Regions from separate parts of the Homo sapiens genome. Here all the other regions are linked to region 4. The links are contacts of gene promoters, found by promoter capture Hi-C in blood cells and fetal thymus (Javierre and others, 2016). All regions are on one chromosome and are shown on one strand. The core of a region is centred on a gene start or on the middle of the fragment in contact, and the rest is flanking DNA. Distances in the headings are between cores, read along the strand shown.

Region 1 (2,970 bases), core at 439-2,938, 1.1 Mb after region 4:
AATTAGAAGTTGCTGAAGGTCTAGCTTTTTGGAAATCAAACTTAAATCCATTTACATGAAAAAAGGGGACAGGAGTCTGCTTCTGAGAACACCATAAAGAAAAGGATGAAAAGGGTTTCCAGGGCTGCCCGTCAGCTGGAGCTACAGAGAATGGAAGCCATCTGCTCCAGAGGTGGGCATGGAGATGTTGGTGTCCCTGGTTTAGTGGGTTGAATAATGTTCCTGAAATGTTCATGCTTACCAGGATCCTCAGAATTTGACCTTATTTGGAAATAGGGTATTTGCAAATGTAATTGGTTAAACAAGTTGAGATGAGGTCATATAGAAAGGCACGGGACAGTTTCTCTCTGAGTCTCCAGCAGGAACTAACTTTTGCAACACCTTCATTGCAGCCTCCTGAACTGTGAGAAAATAAATTTCTGCTGTTTCTGGCCACACAGTTTGTAGTAGTTGGTTATGGCTATCCTAGGAAATGCATATATCTGGGCCAGCTGGACCTTATGGCAAGGAAGCTTAGGAACCATGATCCTTATGGATCTCGCAGCCCAGGACAGTGGGAGGCTCTGCAGAAGCAGTGAGGATTGCCAGGAGTCAGAGTTTCCTCACACCAGGCCCTGCATTAGCCCTCTGGACTTCTGTATATCTTGGGGGCTTCACCAGCCCAGCAAGATAGAGATCTATGTTGATTTTAAGAACATAACATATAAGTTAACCAGAGCTTCTGGGCCAAGCTATGCCTGCTAGTAGAGGGTTTGTAAAGAGGAGTATTAGAAGGAAACAAGTGAGAAACACACGTTGGGACCACACCGAGGGTCTTAACTGCTAGACTCAGAAATCTGGACTTACACCCCTAGGCAATGGGAAGCCACAAATGTTTTAAAGGGTTAGAGCTTGGAAATGACTTGAGGGAAGGAGAGGGGCTTCGGGACAATCAATCTAACTGTCGTTATCAAGGGTTTTGTTGCAAGTAACAGAACTATGACCTAAAGTGGAGTAAGCAAAAGAATTTTATTGACTCATGAAACAGAAAGTCCAGAACAGACTTCATGCATTAGTGTGATTACGACTCTGAACCTAATGTCTTTATTTGGCTTTCTTCATGGGCACAAAGATGCCTCCCAGAGCAACTGTGTTAAAAATGCTCTTTTGTTCATGTCCAGTTAGAAATAAGCTATATTCAGGGCTTACTCTTAGAAACTTTTTTCCTAGAAGACTCAATATATTTATCTCTTTATCTTGGTGGTCCAAGTAGGGATTAAAGCTATTCATTCATGAGCTGATTTTTGACAAAGAGATTAGGGTGGGCAGGATGGACTGAGACTAACCAGATGGCTTAGCATAGATTTCGGGTCTAAGACCATCAGGAGTGGCTTAATGACAGAGACACATTCCAAGAAAAGCGTCATTAGGCAATTTAATGGCTATGCAAACCTCACAGAGTTCACTGTAATACAGCCTCAGGCAGGACCTTCAGGATGTGTTCCAGGGAAAGGCACTGTTACCTTAGGGGATGGCAACTCCATGCAGGTTATTGCCCTTAAAGACCTTCCTGTGTTTCAAGATATGCAGTGAAAGACAGTGATATTGATGACTGACGCTGTGTGGGCCCAAGCTGATGTGAGTGTTTGTGTCTTAATTTTACCAAAAAAGTTGGAAAAGTAAATGAATAAATAATTTGTAAATAGAAAAAACTTGTGAAATAGGGATATAAAGAAAATATTTTTAGGCTGGGTGCAGTGGTTCATGCCTGTAATCCTAGCACTTTGGGAGGCTGAGGTGGGTGGATCACCTGAGGTCAAGAGTTCAAGGCCAGCCTGGCCAACATGGCGAAACCTCGACTTTACTAAAAATACAAAAATTAGCCTGGCCTGGTGGTGTGCACCTATAATGCCAGCTACTCGGGAGGCTGAGGCAGGAGAATCGCTTGAACCCGGGGAGCGGAGGTTGCAGTGAGCCAAGATGATGCCACTGCCATCCAGCCTGGGCAAAAGAGTGAAACTCCAATACCAAAAAAAAAAAAAAAAGAAAAGAAAATGAAAATATTTTTAGTGCAGCTGTTCAATGTGTTTGTATTTTAAGCTAAGTTTTATTACAAAAAAGTCAAAAAAGTTTAAAAAGTGTATAAAGTAAGAAAAGTAACAACAAGCTAGGGTTAATTTATTATTGAAGAAAAACACATTTTTATAAATTCAGTGTAGCCCAAGTGTAGTGTTCATAAAGTCTACAATAGTATACGGTAATGTCCTAGGCTTTCACATTCACTCACCACTCACTCACTGACTCAACCTAGAGCAACTTCCAGTAACGCATGCTCCACTTATGGTAAGTGGCCTATACAGGCATACCGTTTTTATCTTTTATACTGTTTTTCTATAGTACCTTTTCTATGTCTAGATATGTTTAGATACATACATACATACCTACCATGGAGTGACGATTGCCTACAGTATTCAGTACAATAACATGCTGTACAGGTTTGCAGCCTAAGAGGAATAGGCTAAACCATATAGCCCAGGTGTGCAGTAGGTTTTACCATCTATATTCGCATAAGTACACTATGATGCTGGCACAGGGATGAAATTGCCTAACAACACATTCCTCAGAACGTATCCCCATCACTAATAGACTCATAACTATGTCCATGGTGGTTTGCTTCATTTGTTTCTTTTTTCTTTTTCTTTTTTTTTTTTTTTTTTTTTTTTTTGTGCTTTGAAGCTCCAGCTCAAAGGGTTTTTTGAATCCTGGTTTTGCTTGTAGGCAGATAATGCACCATGAACTTTCCTCTCTATTAGTGAAAACCTTTCAGTTTTGGGGTCCATGTTTTCAGACTTCTTAAGGAGCTTGTTGGAGACTGAAGAAGCTTCTGCTAAACCCATCACTGTGAGTATTCTTGGGAGTTCTTTTTTCCCTTCTCCTGCACTTTCTTTTTCTTTACCTCTTCTTCAGCTATGCACTCCTATTCCAGTTCCA
Region 2 (3,406 bases), core at 335-2,834, 1.2 Mb after region 4:
TTGTCAGTGATGGCAGCAGTGGCCTATCTGGAGCAGCTGCTGTGGGGATGCCAGCTGCAGCAGGGGAGGCATAGCTGGGGCTGCATGCTCCACAGAGCTGGCAGGGACCAGGAACAGGTGGGAACCCTGCCTTCTATCAAGTTGGCAGGGCAGGAGCCCTGAGCTCCCAGGCACAGCTGCAGCTACCTAGCCACAGCTCTGGACCCAGGCATCCCTCTGCTCTTGGGGACCCAGGAAGCCCCCCTGTCATGCAGGCTTGTAATTGCCTGCTCCCGCTCCCTGGCATCTCACCACTCCCAGTGTCCACTCTGATTTTTGGAGCAAAGTTGAAACTGAGCCTGGGTGCTGTCGCAACCCAGCTGGGTGTGTATGTACTCTGGGTGGTGTTGACATGCCAGACCCCTGTCATCTTGGCCCCCTCCAGACTTTGGTCACCGACAGGCACAGGAGGGAAGCCAAGAGGAGACTGAGGGCAGCTCAGTGCAGGCCTGCAGGCGTCCCTCAGCATGCACAGCCTGGGTGCTGTGGATGCCATGTTGATGGTAGCAGGAGGCAGACAGGCTCCTGGGCAGAAAGGGGCAGGTCCCAGGTGAAACACCACCTTCAACCCAGGGACAGCCTGAAGCCTGGGGGCCAGGCTGCCAGTTCCAGGGGGAGTCCATGGCCTAGAGGAAGAACTTATGGTGCTTTATCCAAGCCCATCCATGGCCATCCATGGACCAATCAGCACACACTTCCTCCCTTCTGAGCCCATAAAAACCCTGGACTCAGCCAGACATGTAGGTGTCAGGACTACCAGCTGCAGGAAGGAGCTACCCACTCTGGGTCTCCTTGACTCTTTGGGATGACCTAACTGCAGAAAGGAGCTACCCACTATGTGTCTTCTCTGCTGAAAGCTTGACATTCACTGGGACGACCTGCCTGTGGAAACGAGCTACCCACTGCAGGTCTCCTGAAAGCTGTTCTGTCACTCAGTGAGGCTCCTCTCTGCCTTGCTCACCCTCCAGTTGTCTGCATACCTCATTCTTCCTGGACATGGTACAAGAACTCAGGACCCGCTGAATGGTGGGACTGAAAGAGCTGTAACACAAACAGGGCTGAAACACACCCTCCTCCCTCCATTCACCACGTTGCAGGTGACAAGAAGGAGAGAAGAGCTGTGGCCCGTTGGGAAGCCCAGATCTAGGGGCTCCCCAAGCCAGGGCTGTGACACCTTCTTTGGGACTGCACAGTTCCTGGTGTCTCCAAGCTTCCGGGTGCCACCGTGTTCTCCTAGAACATTTCTAGATGTGTTACTTAGGAATGTGGCAGCTGTCTTGCTTCTTCATCCAGACATGGGTCCAGAAATGGGTGCCTGCAGCAGAAGCCATGTGTGGTACATCTGGTCCAGCCACAGACTCACATGGAGCTGGCACCTGTGCCAGTGCCCGGAGCTGTCCATCCTGTCGCAGCAACCAGCGTACCTGGCTGTGCACAGTGGCTGGACCCTGTGCTAGCTCACCCACACACCCCTTGCTGCTTCACGCCTGGCTTGCCCTTAGCAGGTGTGTGATCTAGGCTGGTAGCATAAGCTGAGCACAACCTGTTGGGCCAAGTGGGTGACATGAGCCCAGCAGGCATGAGCAATACTCAGGTAGAAGGCGCTGCTGGCCACAGAGGTGTCTGGCTGGCAAAGTGACACCCAAGGATCCTGTGACATCAGGATCTGCTCACCTGCAAAATGCTGGTCTCACCTGGGGCTGTAGTGTTGCCTGGTTGTTGAGAGCTCTGTCTCTAGGGGACAATGCCTGGGTTTGTGTCCTGGCTCTACCACTTTCTAGCTGGGAGACCTTGCACAAGTTCTTAACTCCTTTGTGTTTCACATTTTCATCTGAAAAATTGGGGTAATAATAGCTCATTCAGTCTTCATTAAAAGCTTAAGAGGTAGGTTTTTTAATTATTGTTCCAGGCTTTGCTTGAGCTGAGAGGGCCAGCGAGAGTCAAGGTATAGGAGCAATTGAGCAGAGAGAGTGTATCAGTCAGTTTTTGCTGTGTAACAAAACCATGAAATGGCATAAGAGCATTCATTCAGATTTCATAGGTCTGTGGGTCACATGTGGTGGTTCTGGCTTAGTCTTTGAGTTGAGTTGGCCCTGACTGGAGGGTCACAGGCTGCCTGAAGCATGTTTTTCTCATAATGGAGGTCAGAAGCTCCCCGAAGGACACAAAGCTCTTATGATTATGGTTCTGAACTGGCATCTTGACACTTCTTCCCACATTCCATTGGCTAAAGCGTGTCACAACATCCAGTGGGTGAAAAAATACACTCCCACTTCGAGAGACGAGGACGAGGGATAGAGACCCTTGTGGCTCCCATACCCAGCCTTCTGCCAGTCCGTTTGTACTTGTTCTCCAGCAAGAAGCTCAACAGACATTTGTCAATTGGTCATAAATCTGGTACCTAGGAATGGTGCTGACCTCTTGCAGGCCTCCAGGGAGGTCCTGAGAGTCCCATGAGAGTCGACTTTGCTTTGTCACAGAGCAGGACAAGTGGCCATTCCATCTGCAATAAGACCCTTCTAAATGCTCTGCAGGAACTCCTGATGCATCCTTCCAGTGCCCCTTTGAAGTAGCTGCCACTTTAAGCATCACCATCTTCACTTTACAGAGGAGGAAATGAAGGCACAGGGAGGTTGAGTTACTTGCCTGAGGGTGCCCAGCAAAGTGGGCAGAGCCAGATTGAGGCTCAGGTGGTTTGGCTGTGGAATCTCTGTACTGCTTCTAAGGGTGGAGAAAGCAACAGCTGCACACCTTTGTGACTTGTGCTAGGACAGAGGTGTGCATGGGGGTGTGGCAGTGTCTGTGAATTGAGACCTGGACCCTCCAGTCTCCCATGTTCTCTGTGGTGTTTGGGAGATTAGCAACCCCCCACAGAAGAGTTAGGACCCACTTCCCCTGCTCCCAGAAGCCACGCAACTCCCCTCTCAGCAGGGCAGAAGGGAGAGGCCCCTTGCTGCTCGCCAGGGCCCTGGGCCAGGTGGGAGTGACAGAGCGCAGCCCCATCTGTTTGAAATTAGAAGTGAATTGAGCACAGTTGTCCAGAAACTCCATGAAGTTTAGAAACACCGTGCTGAATGTCTCCCCCAGCAAGGCTGTCTCTTCTTGAGAGATTTCATCCCTGTCTCTTCCCCACAGTGCTCATTTTCTTAGCACCTTCTCTGCCCTAGGCTCTAGGGACAGAGACAGTGAGATGAGCCCCTTCCCTCGCCTGGTGAGGGTGTTGGGAGCACACCAGGAGGCCAGAGAAGGATTGTACTCCAGGGAGGATAGTGGTGGCAAAATAACGACAGTAATTAGTGTGTCCATTTAGTGTGTGCTTGTGGAGTGTCACGTGCTTAACACTGTGCCCCTTAGGCCAGTGTTATGT
Region 3 (3,135 bases), core at 161-2,660, 1.2 Mb after region 4:
CATATCTGTCACCTCAAACATTCATCATTTGTGTTGGGAACATTCAAAATCCTCTCTTCTAGCTATTTGAAAATATGAAAATATATTATAAATCCTTGTTTACTATAGCCACCCTGCAGTGCCACAGAACACTAGAACCTATTCCTCCTATCTGTAATTTTGTTTCCTTTAACTGCTCCACATCCGTCCCTGCATGGCTGCTTGCAAGAACTCATCTTTGTGGCTTGTTGTTATAAATTGAATTCGAAGAGCCCCAAGGTGCCTGGGGATTGAGGGAGGCGGTGAGCCACTTTGAGCCTGCCGGGGGGTTTGGAGAAAGGACTGAGCAGGAAGGCTGAGTGCAAAGTTTGCAATCAGGCGTGTAAACTTAGCCAGCTCCCTAGCTAGATGGGAGCCTCTTGGAGGCAACCTGCTTCACGTAAAAGGAATCGTCAGCGTCGCTGTTGCAACCTTGGAAAATTCCCTTTTAATAACATCTTCACAATGGAGAGAAAGGTTTGTTGTTCTTCTTCTTACTTGAAAACACTGTTAATCCTACCACCTGGTGGAGAGTTTGATGAATAAAGACCGTTGCTCAGGAAACATGTTAGCTGCCACGAATAGGAATGTCTTTGTGAGGTGTATTACTGGTTGTTTCTAAAACATAATCTTATGTTTTAAAATTCAGTCTTTTGGCAAAAAAAGGAAATTAAAATGAAAGGGAGAGATTAGGCAGACAGTACCATCGTTCTTTCTTTCACCACCTGATAGAAGCTTCAAATGGAAAACACACCTTTCAGAATGGGTTGAAGAACTGGTTCCAACCTAAGGTCTGCTGCTATTTTCTGTTTCTCCCTGCGACCTGGAACAAACTGAGCTCAGCAAACATGATCCTTGGACCACAGTAAGTCCTCATTTAATGACATCGATAGGTCCTTGGAAATTGTGAGTTTAAGGGAAACGACATAAAAAACTGATTTCACCATAGGGTAACTGATATAAACAAGAGTTAAGTATCTCTGATGTATTTCTGTTCATAAAAATATCACCAAACTTCTAAATGAAGGCCCCAAACAGCATCGCAGGTGGCCACAGCCTGTCCCAGTGGCTTAGGACGTGCACACATGCACACACACACACACACACACACACAAAACCACACTCTATCGCCCTGGGACCACATAAACACAGCAGTTCACCTGATATGCACAGCTTTTTGGGGTGTGGGAAACTGGAGTGCCTGGAGAAGACCCACGAGGACATGAGGAAAACTTGCAAACTCCACACACACAGTGGTCCCGGCCGGGAATCCGTATTCTTCTCATCAATGTTATAATGAAATGCTGTTGAATGAAACAGCATTATTGGAAGACCTGCGGCATAGGATTTTATACATTAAACTGACATTTATGCAATGTCAGAAATCCAAACAAGGAGAAAAAAATATACTGGCTGTGGAGACAGTTTTGAATATCAGAATACTTCTGCATTGTCAGGAACCTGCCCCGGATGGAGTAAAGGAGGTTTTCTCTTTTTCTCTGAGCCATGGTGTCATAAACTTTAGTCACCATTACTTGCGGGAGGACGGGGGCATGGTATGTTGGTTGAATAATTAGTTACAGAGGTTGCACACTTAAATAGTGTCAAAGAATTATAAAATCTTAGCATTTGCAAAGAGCCTTTGCAGTAACCTTGTTCAACCTTCTTCTATCTACTGAGTCTTTCATTGATTCCTTGATTTACTCATAAAAGTATTAGCTCTGCCACTGCCTAACTGCGTGTCCTTCAGCAAGTTGCTGAACCTCTCTGTACTTCCCTTTCCTCATCCATAAAATCTGGATAACAATGGTACCTACCTCCCAGGAGGTAATAAATAAGCATTCAATGAGTTAACACTTGGACCGTGCTCAGAAGAGTCCTTGTTAAAGATATGCTGTGGCAACACATCATCATCAATTACATTCTTGTTCCGCCTCCTTGAGCTGCATTTTTCACTACCTGTGGTAGGGAGCTCTGTGCCCCACACAGTGGTGTTTTGACCTCTGGGCAGCTTTGCGGTTTAGAAGGCTCTTTCTCATTCAAAGCTTCCAACCAGAGAGCGCTTCCTGGAGCAGATGGCAGAATGGTGCTCTTAGGAGCTATCTGAATTTAAGGATGGGAAAGTTGTCTGGGCTGTGAAGCTAGGGTATCATCACTGGACATCAGAGGCACAAGAGACATACCTAAGATTTTAGCCATGAGGGGGACCTCAAGACACTGGCCTCTTTTTTTTTTTTTTTTTTTTGAGACGGAGTCTCACTCTGTTGCCCAGGCTGGAGTGCAGTGGCATGATCTCAGCTCACTGCAACCTCCGCCTCCCAGATTCAAGCAATTCTCCTGCCTCAGCCTCCTGAGCTCACTGCAACCTCCACCTTCTGGATTCAAGCAATTCTTCCGCCTCAGCCTCCTAAGTAGCTGGGATTACAGGCACGCGCCACCACGCCTGGCTAATTTTTGTATTTTTAGTAGAGACAGGGTTTCACCATGTTGGTCAGGCTAGTCTCAAACTCTTGACCTCATGATCTGCCTGCCTTGGCCTCCCAAAGTGCTGGGATTACAGGTGTGAGTCAGACCACGGCCTCTTTATTTTACAGCCGAGAGGACAGCACAGACAGGGCCTGGCTGGTGCGACAGCTCAACCCATCATCAGGCAGAACCTGGATAGGAGGCCAGCCCGTGGGGTGATACTGCCAAGGCCTGCATTACCACTCAGTTATCCTCTCATCTTGGGCTGCTCAGGGTGCCCTAGAGAACATGCCTTCTGTGCCCTCCTGCACTAGAGCAGGCAGGAAGAGCAGCCTGGACCATGGGTACCACATATCCTATGAGGACCCCATTGTGCCACGCGTTGGTTGACTGGATGACTTCCACTGTGTTTACACTGCACAGTCTCCTCACTTCCTTTAGACCTCCCGGTGAGCAAGCTTGTATTGTCTTTTGTGAATTCTGGCATCTGCCTCCCCTCTTTTTCTTCCTGAGGTTCTGCCCAGGAAATACCACATACTGGTCATTCTAGGCCCATTCACTGTCTAATCAGGCTTTGAGCTTGCTAGTGCTATCAGTGTTTTACAGCTGAGAAGGCTGGCTCGCTGAGGTTGGCCATTGCCTGAAGGTCTC
Region 4 (3,419 bases), core at 239-2,738:
GAGTCATCCTGAAGCTCAATGCCCAAGGGAGTTTTCCTCCTAAAAAATAAGTGACCCCAGAACGAAGTGTTCATTCAGTAATATGACTATGCAACAGGCGCTGAGAAAACAAGATGAAAAGGACCTATAAGGGCTGCTCAGGAAGCTCAGTCTAGTGAGGATGAACGCTGTGCAAACAGAGAAGTGGGGGATGGAGCTAGGCCAGTGAGACCAGAGCTGTGGGAACATGAAGTGTGAACTTCAGGGCTGTCCGAGAATTTCATGTTGAGCAGCAACCAAAGAGGGTTATTCCAGGAAAAGAAGAACAGGCAAAGACTAGCATTTCAGGGGAACCATGAACACAAATCAGTTTCCCAAACTTCAGTCTCCTGAAGTCTGCTTTTACACTTTTTTTTTTTGGGGGGGGGGGGGCATGTCTTTGCAGCATGTACACCATTTTAAGTTGACTGATTTTTGAAAATGTAAACGAACAATTTAAAAACTTTATATGACTACTGTAAGTGAAAAACGTTATTTGTCATGAACAGAAAATGACCTTAGAACATGGACCACATCAACTCATTACTCATGAAATAAATAACTGTCAGGCTCAGTTTGTTTCTGAGGCTAACGGGGTGACCATTGACAGAGGTAAGGGAGGGAGATAATGACAGATAGGAATGGATGCTACGTAGAAAATATGAAGTGTCTTGGAGGGTTACTTTAGATGGGTTTCGGGGGGTGAGGGTTAGGGGCTGGAAGATATCATTTGAGCCGAGGACTACAGTGTTGGAGCTAAACACCTTAACATCAAAACCAAAAACAAAGTCATTAAATTTCCACCAGACTCAGCTGCCTGCCGAAGGCTGTGCCACAAGCAGAGAAATGAATGAGCGGGTGTTGGAGGCGCGCACATCCAGTGCAGACTTGTTGTGGGACAAAAAGAGACGAGAGAGGAGGAAGTCGCCTTGTCACGTGTGATCGTAGGCCGCTCAGTGCTCTGTAGCCCCTAAAACCCAGCCGGGTGGCCCAAAGGAAAGCACCCCACGCTTCGGGAAACGCCGCAGCTTTGAGCGGGATGCAGGTTGGGAGCACCCCGATGGACACATCAGTAAACTGAGAGCAAGAAAAGTTAATTCGCTGCCCCAAGTTAGGTAGTGAGAGGTAGAGCTGGGACACGAAGCGCACCCAGAACTCTCCTTGCACGCCCAGCTCGGCGGCCCCACATGCCGCGGGTCTAGGGTCGCGCTAGCAGAGGCCTGGCACAACCGCCAGACTCCTGACCCCGAGATCCGCGCTCCGGACCTCCCGAGGGCCCCTCCCTGGGCGTGGCTCAAAACGCGGCGCAGCGGAATCCGTGAAGTGGGATAAAAAGCACGGCCTCCGACTGCGAGCATGCGCGTTAGCTCGGCCCTGCCGGGCCGCGCTCGGCGCCGGGGGAGGGTCACCCGAAGCGGACGTCCGCTACGCAGGCGTCTGCGCCCCGTGGGGAGGAGGGCGAAGACTCCATCCGCCATGTTGGATGCCGCAGATTCGCCATAACCTCGCCGGCTCTTTTCTTAAAAAAATAAAAATAAAAAGCGAAGCGTCAGCAGGGCGCCCCGCCCCCTCGGTCGGCACGGGAGGGGGCCCGGAAGAGCCCGAGGCTTTTTTTTCCTCCGCGGTGGGGCGTTGCCATGGAGACGCGGGCGGCAGGTGAGCCGGGCTGGGGGTTGGGGTGAGACGGGGTGGGGGTGGGGCGCGGCGCGGCGCGCGGAAAGCCGTTTCGAGCGTCGAGTCGGGAAGCAGTGCGCCGGCCGCCGGCCGCCGGCCGCCGGCCGCGGAGGGATCCGGGTCTGGGGAGGAGAGCGAACGTAGTTGCGTTCTGCGGCTCACGTTCAGTCGCTGGGGTATCCCGCCGCAAAAAAAAAAAAAAAGCAAGGCGGGAGCGAGTGGGAGAGCATGCGCCCGGCCGTTTCCACGGCAATGGGTGGCGTTGGGGCGCGGGCCAGCGACGGAACGCAGTGGGCGCGAGGTTCGAATCCCGGCGATGCCAGCTCTTTGACTGGACCTTGGCGGGGCTTCCTTCTTGCCTGGCCTCGGATTCCTCCTTGGCGAAATGAGTACCTCCTGCAGGCTTCCCGGCCGCCGGCTGGACCTAATAGAGTGACAGATCTTCCACTTGACACCCGGTGCAAGTCATTTAACCTTGAGCTTGGGGTCCTTCACCTGTAATTACCACAAGCTTCCACATTTGGGCACTGACTTAACACGTTTTGCTGCTCAGCTCTCTTGAGAACTCTAATTTGTAGGTCATTTATTATGAGGAACAGAAGTTCAGAGAGGTCAACTTTACACAGTTTAAAAACGACAGAGCTGGGGCTTTAAAAATTAACTTCCTCCAACTTGGGCTAAAATCCAAACTCCTGCGTGCTCGCCTGACTTGTACCTCCATCTTCTTAGAATAGGGCTTGGCTCATGTAAGTGTTCACTATATACTTAGTGAATGAAAGAACGAACGCGCTAACTGATCACGCCTGCCCATCAGTCTGGCTTTTTTTGCTGGAGTCCAAGTGACCTTTTGGAGATGCCCCGCACAGCTGCCTCTCACCAGCTTTATCTTCCGAGCCTACCAGTTCATCTACTGAAACATCTGTAGTGTGTGTCCCCATGCTGAAGGAAGTAGCGTGTCCTACCTCTAACCCCCAGGGACACCTTTCCTGACTTTAGTTCAAATAACAGCTTTGCAAGGATCCCCTCTGCACGCCAGGCAGGGGTAAAGAGCAGTCCCAGTCGTAGTCCTGCCTCCACCTGCTGCGGTGCTAGATGTGGGAGAATGTGTCCTGGAGTGACAGAGTGGGCCCAGAGCCGAATATTGGGTCAGGAGACCCGAACTATATCAGGCGTGCTTTTTTTTAATTTAATTTTTTTAATTTTTTGGGACAGAGTCCCGCACTATCACTCAGGCCGGGGTGCAATGGTGCAATCTCGGGTCACTGCAACCTCTGCCTCCCGCCCTCAGGTAAACCTCCCGCCTCAGCCTGCCAAGTAGCTGTGACCACAGGTGCGCTGATTAGCTGTGGTGCCCAGCTGATTCAGGTGTGCTGTCTTAGGTTAGCCTAAAATGAGCACCGGAGAGACTTGCTCTCCAAATACAGGTTGAGCATCCCTAATCCAAAAATCCGAAATCGGAAATGCTCCAAAGTCTGAAACTTTGAGCACTGACATGAGGCCACAGTGGAAAATTTTCTATCTGACCTCGTGAAGGTTCTCAGCAGAAATGCAGTTCCATAGCCGGGCGCAGTAGCTCACGCCTGTAATCCCAGCACTCTGGGAGTCTGAGGCGGGAGGGTCCCTTGAGTCCAGGAGTTCAAGACCAGCCTGGGCAGTGTAGTGAAACCCCATCTCTATTTTTCTCAAAAAACAAAACAAAACAACAGTTGCACAACTGTAAAGACGAT

The links. Contacts are between HindIII fragments. The CHiCAGO score rates a contact against its expected background, and 5 or more counts as called.
Region 1: a contact is called between a fragment that was not itself captured here and the fragment with the promoter of ZFAT in region 4, in 3 of 17 cell types (naive CD4 T cells, monocytes and megakaryocytes). The highest score is 8.1, in naive CD4 T cells.
Region 2: a fragment that was not itself captured here is called in contact with the fragment with the promoter of ZFAT in region 4 in 4 of 17 cell types (fetal thymus, total B cells, naive CD4 T cells and 1 more); the score reaches 6.8 in fetal thymus.
Region 3: a contact is called between a fragment that was not itself captured here and the fragment with the promoter of ZFAT in region 4, in 6 of 17 cell types (fetal thymus, naive CD4 T cells, M0 macrophages and 3 more). The highest score is 7.2, in fetal thymus.

What each region holds. Positions count from the first base shown.
Region 1 is chr8:133,578,150-133,581,119 of GRCh38, reverse strand. No RefSeq gene overlaps it. Among named protein-coding and RNA genes, the nearest start is that of ST3GAL1, 7.7 kb to the right of the region's middle. The HindIII fragment of the contact is 2,348 bases long and covers 515-2,862 here.
Region 2 is chr8:133,522,713-133,526,118 of GRCh38, reverse strand. The region is part of intron 2 of ST3GAL1 (ST3 beta-galactoside alpha-2,3-sialyltransferase 1); the gene reads left to right. Among named protein-coding and RNA genes, the nearest start is that of ST3GAL1-DT, 46 kb to the left of the region's middle. RefSeq lists an enhancer at 2,293-2,462. The HindIII fragment of the contact is 666 bases long and covers 1,252-1,917 here.
Region 3 is chr8:133,557,033-133,560,167 of GRCh38, reverse strand. All of the region lies in intron 1 of ST3GAL1 (ST3 beta-galactoside alpha-2,3-sialyltransferase 1), which reads left to right. Among named protein-coding and RNA genes, the nearest start is that of ST3GAL1-DT, 12 kb to the left of the region's middle. The HindIII fragment of the contact is 1,310 bases long and covers 756-2,065 here.
Region 4 is chr8:134,711,100-134,714,518 of GRCh38, reverse strand. ZFAT (zinc finger and AT-hook domain containing) reads left to right here and starts at 1,488. Exons shown (of 16, transcript NM_020863.4): 1 at 1,488-1,674. The coding sequence starts at 1,656. RefSeq lists an enhancer at 1,477-1,656. The HindIII fragment of the contact is 8,105 bases long and covers 1-2,205 here.